Linked DNA regions of Homo sapiens: all the other regions are linked to region 3. Evidence: promoter capture Hi-C in 16 types of primary human blood cells and fetal thymus (Javierre and others, 2016). All regions are on one chromosome and are shown on one strand. The core of a region is centred on a gene start or on the middle of the fragment in contact, and the rest is flanking DNA. Distances in the headings are between cores, read along the strand shown.

Evidence for each region. Contacts are between HindIII fragments. The CHiCAGO score rates a contact against its expected background, and 5 or more counts as called.
Region 1: a contact is called between a fragment that was not itself captured here and the fragment with the promoter of RCVRN in region 3, in 4 of 17 cell types (monocytes, neutrophils, M0 macrophages and 1 more). The highest score is 11.8, in monocytes.
Region 2: a fragment that was not itself captured here is called in contact with the fragment with the promoter of RCVRN in region 3 in 2 of 17 cell types (neutrophils and monocytes); the score reaches 12.2 in neutrophils.

Annotation. Positions count from the first base shown.
Region 1 is chr17:10,247,918-10,252,245 of GRCh38, forward strand. No RefSeq gene overlaps it. Among named protein-coding and RNA genes, the nearest start is that of GAS7, 51 kb to the left of the region's middle. RefSeq lists a silencer at 3,498-3,547. The HindIII fragment of the contact is 1,045 bases long and covers 1,462-2,506 here.
Region 2 is chr17:10,230,057-10,234,485 of GRCh38, forward strand. No RefSeq gene overlaps it. Among named protein-coding and RNA genes, the nearest start is that of GAS7, 34 kb to the left of the region's middle. The HindIII fragment of the contact is 8,093 bases long and covers 1-4,429 here.
Region 3 is chr17:9,901,902-9,906,851 of GRCh38, forward strand. It overlaps RCVRN (recoverin), which reads right to left and starts at 3,370. Exons shown (of 3, transcript NM_002903.3): 1 at 2,899-3,370. The coding sequence starts at 3,279. The HindIII fragment of the contact is 11,305 bases long and covers 1-4,950 here.

The DNA of each region.
Region 1 (4,328 bases), core at 734-3,233, 340 kb after region 3:
GGAGTGAGCAGCTGGTGAGCAAAAGATGTTGATGGTGTTGGTGAGGATTTCATTTCCTGGGCCAGAGCCCAAGATGCTAGAGTACAAGGCTACTGGCAAAACACAGAGAGTACCGCAAAGTCGGGGAAGAATGTGCTGGGCAGATTACCCAATGACATCAAAGGACACTTAAAAGATTTCTGTGGGCTACATAGTAAACAGCTGTTGTTTTTGTCTGCTCAGCATTCTTTTGCCATCTTCTTTTAATAACCTCTTTATTTCTGAAGGAAAACCAGGCATTTTCATAGTCTATGCAGCTGAAGAGGGTCGACACATCCTTTGGCTTCATGGGTGAATATGCAACTTGGTAAGAGTCTATCAAAATCTCAGTGATTTATTCAGAGGTGGACACGTGACTCAGCCTGGACCAATGAGAGTTTTCTCTGGGACTTTGCTCAAATGATTAGGAATGAGATATGCTTTCTTAGAGTTGTTACGATGATAGCTAGCGTGAGACCGAGCTCGAATGAGACTGAGAATGAAATGAATACAGCAGAAAGCTGAGTCTAATGATGGAGAGACAGAAATTCCTGAAAACATTAGGGCACTTGGATTTAGCCATGTCTGAAGCTAACCGTACCTCTTGGACTTTTTAGTTATGTGAATCTATACCTTTAAATTCTCTCTCTCCCATCAATCTGGTTTAATGTAATTTCAGTTTGGTTACTGTAATGTACAATGATAGTTGAGAAAATGTAAAACAGTCTTTGTGATTAGAAAGAAACAGGATGAGTCAGGCGCGGTGGCTTATGCCCGTAATCTCAGCACTTTGGGAGGCCGAGTCGGGTGGATCACTTGAGGTCAGGAGTTCGAGACCAGCCTGGCCAACATGGTGAAACCCCATCTCCACTAAAAATACAAAAAATTAGCTAGGTGTGGTGGTGGGTGCCTGTAGGTCCCAGCTACTCGGGAGGCTGAGGCAGGAGAATTGCTTGAACCGGGGAGGCAGAGGTTGCAGTGAGCCCAGATCATGCTACTACATTCCAGCCTTGGCAACAAGAGCAAAACTCTGTGAAAGAAAGAAAGAGAAAGAAGAAAGAAAGGAAGAAAGAAAGGAAGGAAGGAAGAAGGAAAGAAAGAAAGAAAGAGGAAAAGAAAAAAAAGAAAAGAAAGATACAGTGCCCAGTTATTCTTGGGCAAAAATAAAGGCAACAGGATGGGAACTTTATTTATGGTCTTACACATCCATCTCCCAGTGCAAAGGGTGTGGGGGAAATGGATAAGGTAAGATGTTCATACTACTGAAAGAAGAAGAAAGCTATAATTTCATTAGCATCATTGCTACTTAGGAGGGGAATCATAACTGGAAAGTGACAATGGAAGGATGTATTTTATTTGAAAGATGCAAGTCCAATAGAAAGGGAATATTGTATAGCATTATCTGTGAGGAAGTTACTAAGTGGTCTGCCTGTCAGTATGGAAAGCTTTGGGGTCAGGAATAGGGAGGACAACCACAGAAACAAGACTCCACCCAACATGGGGCCAGAGGAAGCCTGGAGAAGATGCTTTCCTAACACACATCCCCAAGCCATGAAAGAGTTTCATTAGGAATTCCAGTTATGCAGACATAAGCTGGAATTCTTCTTTTGCTAAAGTTTAGAACATCTGATAAATTATTATCTTACTTTGCTAACAGTTTCTCAGAACACGGAAGTAGCAATGGAGTAAGCTGTTCTGTTTTCCTTTCTTTTAAAAACTATATTTTTCCCTTGAACATAAAAGAAAGACATACTTCTGGTGGAAGATTCGATAATACAGTGGTGACACTCATACATCTATTCCTCAAAGATAAGCAATTGGATTTGTACTGTGTGCCGGATGTTGGCTAAGTATTTAATAAATAGGCTCATTTAATCTCTACAGCATTAAGAGGTGCATTCTTGTATGATCCTTAGTTTGTGGATAAGAAGACTGAGGTTTAGTAAAGCTAAAAAAAAATTCTCTGAGATCACAGAGCCAAGTTGGTGCTAGAGCCAGGATTTGAACTAAGCCATCTGGGCTCTTAACCACTATACTACATTCTGTATTTGTGCTTCCACCTACATAAATTCCTTGTTATAGTGTATATTTATAATTTTGTAGCCTGTTTTTCCCTTTCACTTAATTTTATAATATAGGCAATTTCCCATTTTGTCAAAAACTCTTAAATTTTAAAAATTAAAATATTTATACTTATGTAAAGTAGACTACTCTAAGGGATGCCTATGGACCTATCACAGCTTCAACAATTACCAAACAGTCTTGTTTCCTCTATCCACTCCTCACTCTATTATCTAAAGCAAATTGCAGACATTGTACCATTTTATCTGTAAATATATCAATATGTAATTTTAGTTATTCCTTAATATTCTGAGGTATCCAATCTGTGCTCGAACTTTCCAGATGTAAACATTATTGTAAATGTTATTCTAAATTTGGTTCTGAGGATACTTACGGAAGAATTGGTGGGTGATGTGGAAGTATTAGAAGCTTTGAGCCAAAGTGACCCTGTCACTTTGGAGTTTGCAGTAGCAAACAAACAGAAAACGCTGCACTGCACAATGAGGAAACCAGATTTCCAGAAGTTCAGTAGAAAGAAAGATGTACAATTCCACCTAGAACTGTATTGTTCCACGTAGTGGCACCAGTCATATGTCACTATTTACATCAAAACTAATGAAAATTAAATAACATTTAAAATTCAGTCCCTAAATAACCACATGTGGCTTGTGGCTATCATATTAGATAGTGGAGATATAAGATATTTTATTTTATTTTATTCTGTCTTTTTTCTTTTTTTGAGACAGGGTCTCGTTCTGTCGCCCACGCTGGAGTGCAGTGGCATGATCATGGTTCAATGTAGCCTCGACTTCCTGGGGCTCAAGCAATCCTCCCACCTCAGCCTCCTGAGTATATGGGACTACACAGGCATGCACCACCATGCCTGGCTAATTTTGTTTATTTTTTATAGAGATGAGATCTCACTGTGTTGCCCAGGCTGGCCCCAAACTCCTGGACTCAAGTAATTCTCCTGCTTCTGCCTCCCAAAGTGCTAGGATTACAGGCATGAGCCACCATGCCTGGCTGATATAAGATATTTTCACCATCACAAAAAGTTCCATTGAATGTAGCTGGTCTAGACTTTAAGAAGGAATAGTATTTGCAAGAGGCAGGAGATTCCTACACAAAAAATGTCTGCATTTGTGATTGTCAAAGGGCTTGAGGAGTGCAGCTGCCACTCTGATCACAGAGGCCTCTGATCAGCTTAGCATTCAAGAGGAGGTGGAGCACACAGCTCAAGTCTCATTGCTTATTTATTTATTTAACTGCTTTAATTGAACAGGCCCCACTTAGCCATGTGCCAACAAGAAGTTTGCGTTATTTTTGTAACTCACTTCCTTTTTGCTAAAAAATCCCTTTTCACACTCAGCAGCGGAAAAACTGAAGTTAGCCCAGTCTTATAAATACCAGCCCTGTCCAGTCATTTCCAGTTTAAAATAGTTTCATTTCGAGTAAACATTTCACGCCGTTCAGGTATTTTTATCCTCCACCACTGTCTGGTTCAGAACCCCACTCCGAGCTTGGGCATCAGAGGAGAGCTTTGTCCTTTGCTGTCTCTTCTCTTCCTCCTTGCAGCCCCTCAATAGCTGCTCCAAGTGTCCCCTAGTGGGAAGTGGAGAAGGGAGACCTCTCCTTTCTTGGCCAGGCCACGTTTCTCTATCTGACTGGGTCCTCAGTGTTATTTGGTTGCTTGATTGGCTCTACCTAGGTGATGTCCCAGGTAGGATTCTGCTGTGATGTCATGCTCAGTATAAGTCGTGGCCCAGGTGATGTGTCTCTGTCCAAGGTCCTAAGCCCAGTGGACCTTCAAAGGCTAGTGGCCACGTTTTCAGAGCCGCAGCCACTCTAACTCCCATCAAGCAATTCCCTTTCTTACTCAACTGGCGTAACTATCCTGAGTTACCCAACTTTACCTAGTTCATGGTGGAAACTTCATAGGCCCCCTTCTATGATGTTCCAGAGGATGCGGTATGATACTTGTTGTGCCCAGATGTGCCACCCCACAACTGCTCACACAAGCTTCATGCTGGGCTCCACTATAGTTGAGTTGACAACTATTAATATGTACTTTAAGAAAATGAAGGAGTATGTGCTCTGGGTTTCAGACTCTCTTCTACCTCATAGGCACTTCCCTTGGAGTTCTCCAATTTTGAGGGACAGGTCAAGGGTCCCCGTAGCACATGATTGACGATATAATTACTTCAGAAGGAATCTTGCTCCCTCTCAAAGATGAGCCCTTATCCCTTCTT
Region 2 (4,429 bases), core at 1,546-4,045, 330 kb after region 3:
ATGGGGCCAGTTTCCCCCACACTGTTCTTGTGTAGTGGATAAGTCTCATGAGACCTGATGGTTGTTTTTTTTTTTTTTTTTTTTTTTTTTTTGAGATGGAGTCTTGCTCTGTTGCCCAGGCTGGAGTGCAGTGGCGCGATCTTGGCTCACCGCAAGCTCCTCCTCCTGGGTTCAAGCGATTCTCCCGCCTCAGCCTCCCAAGTAGCTGGGACTGCAGGCGCCCACCACCATGCCTGGCTGATTTTTCGTATTTTTAGTAGAGATGGGGTTTCACTGTGTTAGCCAGGATGGTCTCGATCTCCTGACCTCATGATCCGCCCGCTTCGGCCTCCCAAGATCTGATGGTTTTATACATGGGAGTTCCCCTGCACTTGCTCTCTCTTGCCGGCTGCCTTGTAAGACCTGCCTTTGCTTCTCCTTTGCTCTCTGCCATGATTGTGAGGCCTCCTCAGCCATGTGGAACTGTGAGTCCATTAAACCTCTTTCTTTTATAAAGTACCCAGTCTTGGGTATGTCTTTATTAGCAGCATAAGAACAGATTAATACAGTCCTAACATATAATATTTCTTTGATTATTCAATAATCAGTGGCACATCTCTTTCAGTAGGTGATAGGATCCATGAGGACAGGCAGAATTGCCCACTATGGTATCCCCTGTGCCTGATTCAGTACCTGGCACTAGTATGTGCTCAATGAGCAATTTGTAAAATGAATCAATAAATAATTTGTTGCATTGAATTGCATTAGGTTGTCAGCACCCATAGAGCACTTCTGGTAATGGTAGCTCAATGATAGGAACTATGGGAGAGGTAAAAAAAATGAATAATCAATAAACAGATAGGAAAGGTTAAGTCTTGTGAAGGCATGTATTCCAATATGGCCACCAAGGGCTCTCCCATCCTAGGAGCACTTGTTACAACGTAACCTTTACATTCCTTCCATCAAGAGGTGCCGTCTATGTCCCTTTCCTTTGAAATTAAGTGAGCTTTTGCACCTGTTTTGACCAATAAAATATAGCAGAAAGGTCATAGCAAACAATGCCACTGTCCCCTTACTTTGGAATACTCCCTTCTGAAGTTTGCGGCCATGGAGGCAGTCTGGCTGCCCACAAGTCCGCCATGCTGTGAGGAAGCTCAAACTCCCCTAGATAGAGAAGCCCTGAACCTACTTGAAGAAAGATGTCCTGCCAGTCTTCAGCTGCTTCAACCACTGTCTGGTTGCAATTAAATGAGACCACTGGCCAGAACTGTCCAGATGAGACTGTCCCAAATTCCTGACCCACAGAAACAATGACAGATAGTGAAATGACTTTTGTTGCATTAAGCCACTGAATTTGGGGGTGATTTGTTACACAGCAAGAAATAACTAGAATAGATTTGAATTCAAAGAATGTATGATCTAGTTAGAGGCCGGGCATGATGGCTCATGCTTGTAATCCCAGTGCTTTGAGAGGCCAAGGTGGGAGGATCACTTAAGTCCAGAGCTCAAGACCATCCTGGTCAATATAGAGAGACCCTGCCTCTATTTTTGAAAAAAAAATTGAGTTGGAAAGTCAAGACGTGAGTGAATTTAACCAAGTTTATTGGATGGTGCCAGCAGTCTCTGGATGGCAAAGGTCCAAATTGTATGGTTCTATCTATGCGAATACCATAAATACACTCACCCATCCATCCCCATCTTCTCTCTCCCATTCATCTCTATCCATGCTCCCTTACCTCTGCCCCTAATCTTGCCTTGGTCCTTCAAATCCTTGGTTCCCATCATATGTCTGCAATTCACTGCAGGGCTGACACTTTCTCAAACTCTCAACCTGATAGAGCCTTAAATTAATAAGCTACCTGGTCTTCCCAGCTTCACTTTGGATGTACTGCAGAGTGGAGTCAAGGGTGTTTAGATCACAAACCCCTGGTTCTGGCTCCTGGATCTTGACAACAGTCATCACATAAATTTTCTAACAAGAGACACATCCGCATAATTAAACCAAAGATATCACAGACGCAGACACATGCAAAGAGGGCAGGGCTGGGAGAAGGGAACCATTCATCAAAACCTCATCATAAATTCAAGTTGAAGGACTGAAAAGGAACAAAGCATGGATACTTCCCAAACCCAGCAGCTGGACCTCTCACTGAAATCCTGAAATCACTGCAGCCCAACTCAACATCTGGGAGAGAATAAAATATAATAAAGACTTAAAAAGAACAGACGCTGGGCAATTACCAGTTGAAGTGCGGATGGGGAATATAAATTCTCTGAGCGCCTAAAGACAGAAATATACATTGGCACATGGGTCTTAGGGCTGTGAATTTCATCCAGCTGTAGCCACCATTCTTTCTCACTATGACTAATATTTCGTTAGCAAATGCACTTTCTAAGCAATGAACATAATTATGTTCAGGTTGACATGACCTAAATTAGAGTGGCTGAATTTTTATTTATTCGACATCAGCAGTGAAGTAAAATGTCCAAAAGGATTTTGATGCTGAATCAAAGTACCAAAGAATGTTGGGAATAACATTCTATTTAGAATTGGAAGATCTGGGTAGAAGTCCTATCTAGTCCATGTATACATTGTGTGAGACTGGGCAATATTGAATCTCCTAAATGTGGACACAAATTTGAAATGGAGATAAAACCTACCTCCAGAGTTTTAATGAGGATTAAATTAGGTAATATATCTTCAAAACTCCTGCCACATTGCTTTCGGCTTCTTCACCTGTAAAATTGGAGCAATACTTGCATAAGAGGGTTAGGTTGTAAGGATTCCTTAGCTTATGATACTAATTAAGATACTCTTGGTTGTAACAGACAGTGGGATTTATAGTTGCTTTAAAATATAATGTATTGGCTGAGCACGGTAGCTCATGCCTGTAATACCAGCACTTTGGGAGGCCAAGGTGGGCGGATCACCTGAGGTCAGGAGTTGGAGACCAGCCTGGCCAACATGGTGAAATCCAGTCCCTAACACACACACACACACACACACACACACACACACACACACACACACACAAAATTAGCTGGGGCATGGTGTCACATGCCTGTAGTCTCAGCTACTCGGGAGGCCGAGTATGAGAATCTCTTGAACCTAGGAGGTAGAGGTTGCAGTGAGCCGAAATGGCACCAGTGCACTCCAGCCTAGGCAACAGAGTAAGACTGTCTCAAAATAATAATAAAGTAAAATAAAATGTATTGAGTTGTTCTAGCTAATGAGAAAGCAGAAGGTAAGTGATTCCAGGGTAGGATCAATGACATCAGTGATGAGTAATATCAAGGCATTGAGTCTAAGTCTCTGCAACCCATGTGGCTCCTCCCTCATGGTGGCAAGATGGTTGCATCAGCTCCAAGCATCAGGTCTTCACACCAGAGTGCCCAAAGCATGAAAGGAGAAGAGTTTTTTCCACACATCTCTCTTATCAAGGAGGAGAACATTGCTCCCCCGACACATTTTCTGTTACATCTCATTGGCCAGAACTGAACCATGGCAATTTTTTGCTGGGAAGGAGCCTGGGGAAATAAATACCCAGCATTTCCAAAAGCTAGCATGAAGAGCCACCTCTAGCAGCAGGGAAAAAGGGGGAGAAAAATGACATTGGGGTGGGAAACACACTGGGTCTGCCCCTGTAATGGATGTGGAGTGTCTACCGTGATGGGCCCCATGGTCAATGGAGTAACATTCATTGAGCACCAGCTGTGTGCCAGCTATGGTTTGTAGACCTTTAGAGGGATCACCTCATTTCATCCTCTCAACAATCCTTGAGAAAGTACTACTATTAGCCTTGTTTTATTTTTTTGAGACTGAGTTTCGCTCTCGTTGCCCAGGCTGGAGTGCAGTGGTGTGATCTCGGCTCACTGCAACCTCCGCCTCCCAGGTTCAAGCGATTCTCCTGCCTCAGCCTCCCGAGTAGATGGGATTACAGGCATGCACCACCACAGCCAGCTAATTTTGTATTTTTGGTAGAGACGGGGTTTCTCCTTGTTGGTCTCAAACGTCTGACCTCAGGTGATCCACCTGCCTTGGCCTCCCGAAGTGTTGGGATTACAGGCATGAGCCACCGCACCCAGCCAGCCTTGTTTTATAGACAAGGAAATTGAGGCACAGAAAATTTCATCCACTTTAGCTCAAGGCTATGCAACTAGTGAGTTGGCACAAAGATATCCACACCTGAGTCAGAGCAGGTTGAGTCTTCAAACTAGGTCAAAGGTGGATGCCTATCTCACTTCTCAGGTCTTGTTTGTTCTGATTCTCACCTCGAACTCAAGTGGATTTGAGTTTCTACCTGTGTATCTTAGTGATGAGTATGTTTGTGAAACATTTCCATAAAGTCATGAGATCTCCTAAACTGTTCCTAAATTTATTTACACGTTCATATTGTGATGATTGTTGTGGAGTGGAGGCCTCAAGGCTCAGGCTTACCTGGACCACAAG
Region 3 (4,950 bases), core at 2,120-4,619:
CCTCAGTCAGTGCTCTGCCCATGAACTTGTAATCTGGTGAATAGCAGAGCCTTCTGCCACCTTGCACAGCCCCAGCCATTGATGGAGTCTCCCTCCCTCCCTTTCCTTTCTTCTTTCTTCCTTTCTCTCCTCCTTTCCTTCTCCTCCCTCCCTTCCTTCTCTCCTTCCCCTTGCTTCCCCCTCTTTCCTTCCTGACTCCTACCTTCCCTCTCTCCCTCCCTCATTTCCCCCTCCTCCCTTTCCTCCTCCTTTTATTCAATGAGTATCAATTTGTAGGCTTCTGCTGGGCCCTGCATTGTTTATGCCACTCTGAAGACTTAGTCCCTGTCCCAGGCCACCCAGAGACCCCACAGCCAATCCGAGGGAGCTTTCTCTGCAGGCTGTGCCAAGATAACAATGAGAGAGACACATGCCTGCCAGAATGGGAGGCCCGAGCTGAGCATTGAGGATAAGCCCATGGACCACAAGCTGCATGCTCTGCTGTTTTATTTATGATTTCTCCTAATAACTGTGGAAGATTTTTGTGCATTTGTCATCATGCAAATGAAAGCATGATTGCCAATGCACACAAAGTTATTAACATCTAAACAATAGTCTCTACTAACAGGAATGGAATTAGAAGAATAAGGTAAGTGGCAGGGGCAGGGGGACTGAAAAAGAATAAATTAAAAAAAAATCAAATGAAGGAAATTAGAACTGGTATAATAGGAAAGAAATGGAAACAACCTAATGTCCAAAAACATAGGAATGTTCAATAATTTCCACATTTCCATAAGCCAGAATTCCAAGCAGCTATTAAAAGAGTTTTGGAAGAGGTTGGGTGCGGAAGCTCACGCCTGTAATCCCAGCACTTTGGGAGGCCGAGGCGGGCAGATCACCTGAGGTCAGGAGTTCGAGACCAGCCTGGCCAACATGGTGAAACCCCGTCTCTACTAAAATACAAAAATTAGCTGGGCAGGTGCCTGTAATCCCAGCTACTCGTGAGGCTGAGGCAGGAGAATTGCTCAAACCCAGGAGGGGGAGGTTGCAGTGAGCTGAGATCACGCCACTGCACTCCAGCCTGGGCGACAAGAGCAAAACTCTGTCTGAAGAAAAAAAAAAAGTGTTTTGGAAGAATATGTAATGATATGGAAAGCACTCATGATAAAAGAGTAACTGAAAAATGTATGATAAAAAATCGTATGTGAATATGTCATAGCTTTAACATTATTTAAAATTATATAGGTAAAAGACTGAAAAGGTATATACTGATATACTAAGAAAAGTTTTCCCTGGATGTTGGAATTAGAGGCAATTGTTAGTCTCTTTTGCCTAGGTTTCTAAATTTCATGAGTTACTTTTATATCAGATAAACCATTTTCAAGACACCTACGAGGTTAGTGGAAAAGTAATTATGGTTTTTGCCATTACTTTCACAACAAAGGATCTGACAGGAGGACAGTATGGACAGGGGAGAAGGCGTGTTGGGAACCATATGGAAGCCTGTGCGCCTCACAGGGAAACTGTCAGGAGCCGGGGAGCCACGCCGCGCGTGGGAAGCGGGGGCTCATGCGTGGTGCCATGATCCGCCCCGCGCTGGGGAGAACATGAGGACTAGAACTCAGAGTTCATGCCCCCAACTTTGACCTCTTTCTACTTTATATTAGAAGCATATTGTGTGTTTAGAATGAACAGTGATTCAACTTGAATGTGTACTGCTGAAAATTTCAAAGGACATTTTAATAAAGGAAGGAAGAAACAAAGGATGGAGAGAAAGAAAAAATGTAAATATAGTCACGTGTCGCTCAGAGACAGGAATACATTCCGAGAAACACATCTTAAGGCAACTTCTATGTGGGAACATCATAGAGCATCCTTGCACGAACACAGATGGTAGAGCCGACTACATCCCTGAGCTCCATGGTCCAGCCTTTTGCTCCTAGGCTACAAACCTGTGCAGCACGTGACTGTCCTGAATGTTGCAGGCAGTTGTCACACGATGGTAAGTATTTGTGCATCTAAACATAGCTAAACATAGAAATCATGCAGTAAAAATACAGTATAAAGATAAAAAATGGGCCGGGCACAGTGGCTCATGCCTGTAAATCCCAGCACTTTGGGAGGCTGAGGCTGGCGGATCGCTGGAGGTCGGGAGTTTGAGACCAGCCTGACCAACATGGTGAAACCCCGTCTCTACTAAAAATACAAAAATTAGCTAGGCATAGTGGTGCACACCTGTAATCCCAGCTACTCGGGAGGCTGAGACAGGAGAATTGCTTGAACTCGGGAGGCAGAGGTTGCAGTGAGCCAAGATCGCACTATTGCACTCCAGCTCTGGGCTACAGAGTGAGACTCCATCTCAAAAAAATAAAAAATAAAAAACCAAGATACAAAATGGTAGACCTGTCTAGGGCACTCACCATGAGTGGAGCTTGCAGGACTGGGAGTTGCTCTGGGTGAGTCAGTGAGTGAGTAGTGAGTGAATGTGAAGAACTAGGACATTACCGTACACAACTACAGACTTTACGGATACACTTAGGCTACACTAAATGCATTTGAAAAATAAAGTAACTGTGCTATGACGTCACTAGGCAGTAGGAATTTTTCAGCTCCATTACAATCTTATGGGACCACAGTGGTCTATATCGTCCGTTGTTGACCCAAACATCGTGAAGCCAAGCATAACATGGCTGTATTAGGAAACACTCAGATTCTGCTCCGGGAAGACAACGAAGCTGTGGGCAAGTGCCCACCCCTCTATCAATATCAGCATCTCGGAGCACCACGCTCTCAGAGCCAGTGGCCCGCATCCCCCGCTCCACCCACAGATCCACTCCCTCTGCAGCAGCTGCAGCAGGGGACCCCCAGCCCGGAGCGACCCCGGCACCGCCCAGCCAGAAGGGGAGAGGGGAGACTGACCATGACGATCTCCAGCACTTCATTCTTGCTGATGGTCCCGTTACCGTCCACGTCGTAGAGGGAGAAGGCCCACTCCAGCTTCTGGTTGGTCTTGCCCGCGGTGGTCATGTGCAGGGCGATGACGTACTCCTTGAAGTCCAGGGTGCCGTCGAGGTTGGAATCGAAGCTGCGGAACACATGCTGGGCGTAGGCCTTGGGGTCGGTGTCGGGGAAGAACTTGGCGTAGATGCTCTGGAACTGCTGCTGGGTGATGCGGCCGGTGGGACAGTCCTTCAGGAAGGACTGGTACCAGGAGCACAGCTCCTCCTCCGAGAACTTGGTGTTCAGCTGCAGCTCCTCCAGGATCTCCTTGGACAGGGCCCCACTTTTGCTGTTCCCCATGAGTGAGGAAGAGTGGGCAGCGGCTGGGGAGTCGCTGGGTGGGTGGGACGTGCGTGGTCCCCTGGCCGCAGGCTGGGCTCAAGGCTGGTGTGAGCTGAAGACCGAGATGCTGGTGGCTTAGGAGGATTTGCGACCAGTTCTTCGCAATCCTTGAAGGGAGGAGGGGCCCAGGAGCTTTGTGGAGGGCGGGAGCGGTGGGGGGGGGTGCTCCCAGAACCCTAGTGAGATTAAAATAAAGAGCCCAGGGCAGGCAGGCAATTCATCTCGGCCTCCCGGGACGATACTAGAACAGGACAGGAGGTTGGAACCCTCAGAGCTGGGGCCTCCGGCACCCCCAGCCCCAGCCCTCTAACAGCAGCCATGTTCCCTGTTTCTCTTCCTCACTAACTCTGAGCATCTCGGGGCGGGGCTGGCATCTCATATCAAGCCCTAGAATGCAATGGTTAGGAGCACAGACTCTGGGGCCAGCATGGGTTCAAGTCCCAGCTTGGCTACTTAACTAGCTGTGTGGCCCCAGGCTTGTTTCTTCACCTCTTTCCACCTGGGACACTCTTCTAAACCTTCACTGCAGTCATGTCTCTGCTTAAATGTCACCTGCTCAGCCAGGCCTATACTGACCCTCTATCTATAATAGCACAACCCCCACCATCATCGGCACGCTGCATGTCCCCTCACCGGAATGAAAGCTCCGTGAAGGATGGGATTTTGTCTGTGTTGTTCCCGGATGCATTTCCATTGCCAGAACCTGATAGGCTTGGGCCCCCAGCAAGTCTTTCTTGAATAAATGGGCATCATAGCATCTACCACACTGTCATTGTGAGGCTGATGTGAGTCAATATGTCTGACACACTTAGAAACTGGCACATGGCTAATGCTAAACACTCGTTTTGTTATTGTCCATCAGTCACAGGGAGTGAAGGTGAACTGCCTGAAGGGACCAGCAGGGGGCAGCCAGGCCTGTGTCACCTCGGGAAGGGGCTGCCAGAGAACGTGGTCACATGGGATGGTGAGATTTTTGGGTTTTTTTAAATTATTCAAGAGAAATCCAAAAATCAGAATTTTTCTTGCAATTTCCACACTTTTCAACTTTGGCAATTAATTCAAAATTTTAATGGTGGCTCACGTCTGTAATCCCAGCACTTTGGGAGACTGAGTGGGGAGATTACAAGGTTAGGAGTTCGAGACCAGCCTGGCCAACATGGTGAAACCCTGTCTCTACTAAAAATACAAAAAATTAGCCGGGCATGGTGGCAGGTGACTGTAATCCCAGCTACTTGGGAGGCTGAGGCTGGAGAATCGCTTGAACCCGGGAGGCAGAGGTTGCAGTGAGCCGAGATTGCACCATTGCACTCCAGCCTGGGTGACAAGTGTGAGACTCCATCTCAAAAAAACAAAACAAAAACAAAAACAAAAACAAAACAAAACATGGTGTGGGCCAAACACAATCTATCTGTGGGTCCATGGCAGGCTGCAGGGTGTCCGTCTGCAGTGGACTTGGAGTGAGCAGGCAAGAAAACGTGTTTGCTGAGTGAATGGATAAATAACTGAGTGGTCAGAGACGGAGCTGTGCAAAGGCAGGCTTCGCGTCTGTGCAGCTCAGCGGGGAGTATCAAGCACGAGGAAGCAACCTAGTGAGGACGCTGCACACCTGGATTCTTGTCACCCAGAAGG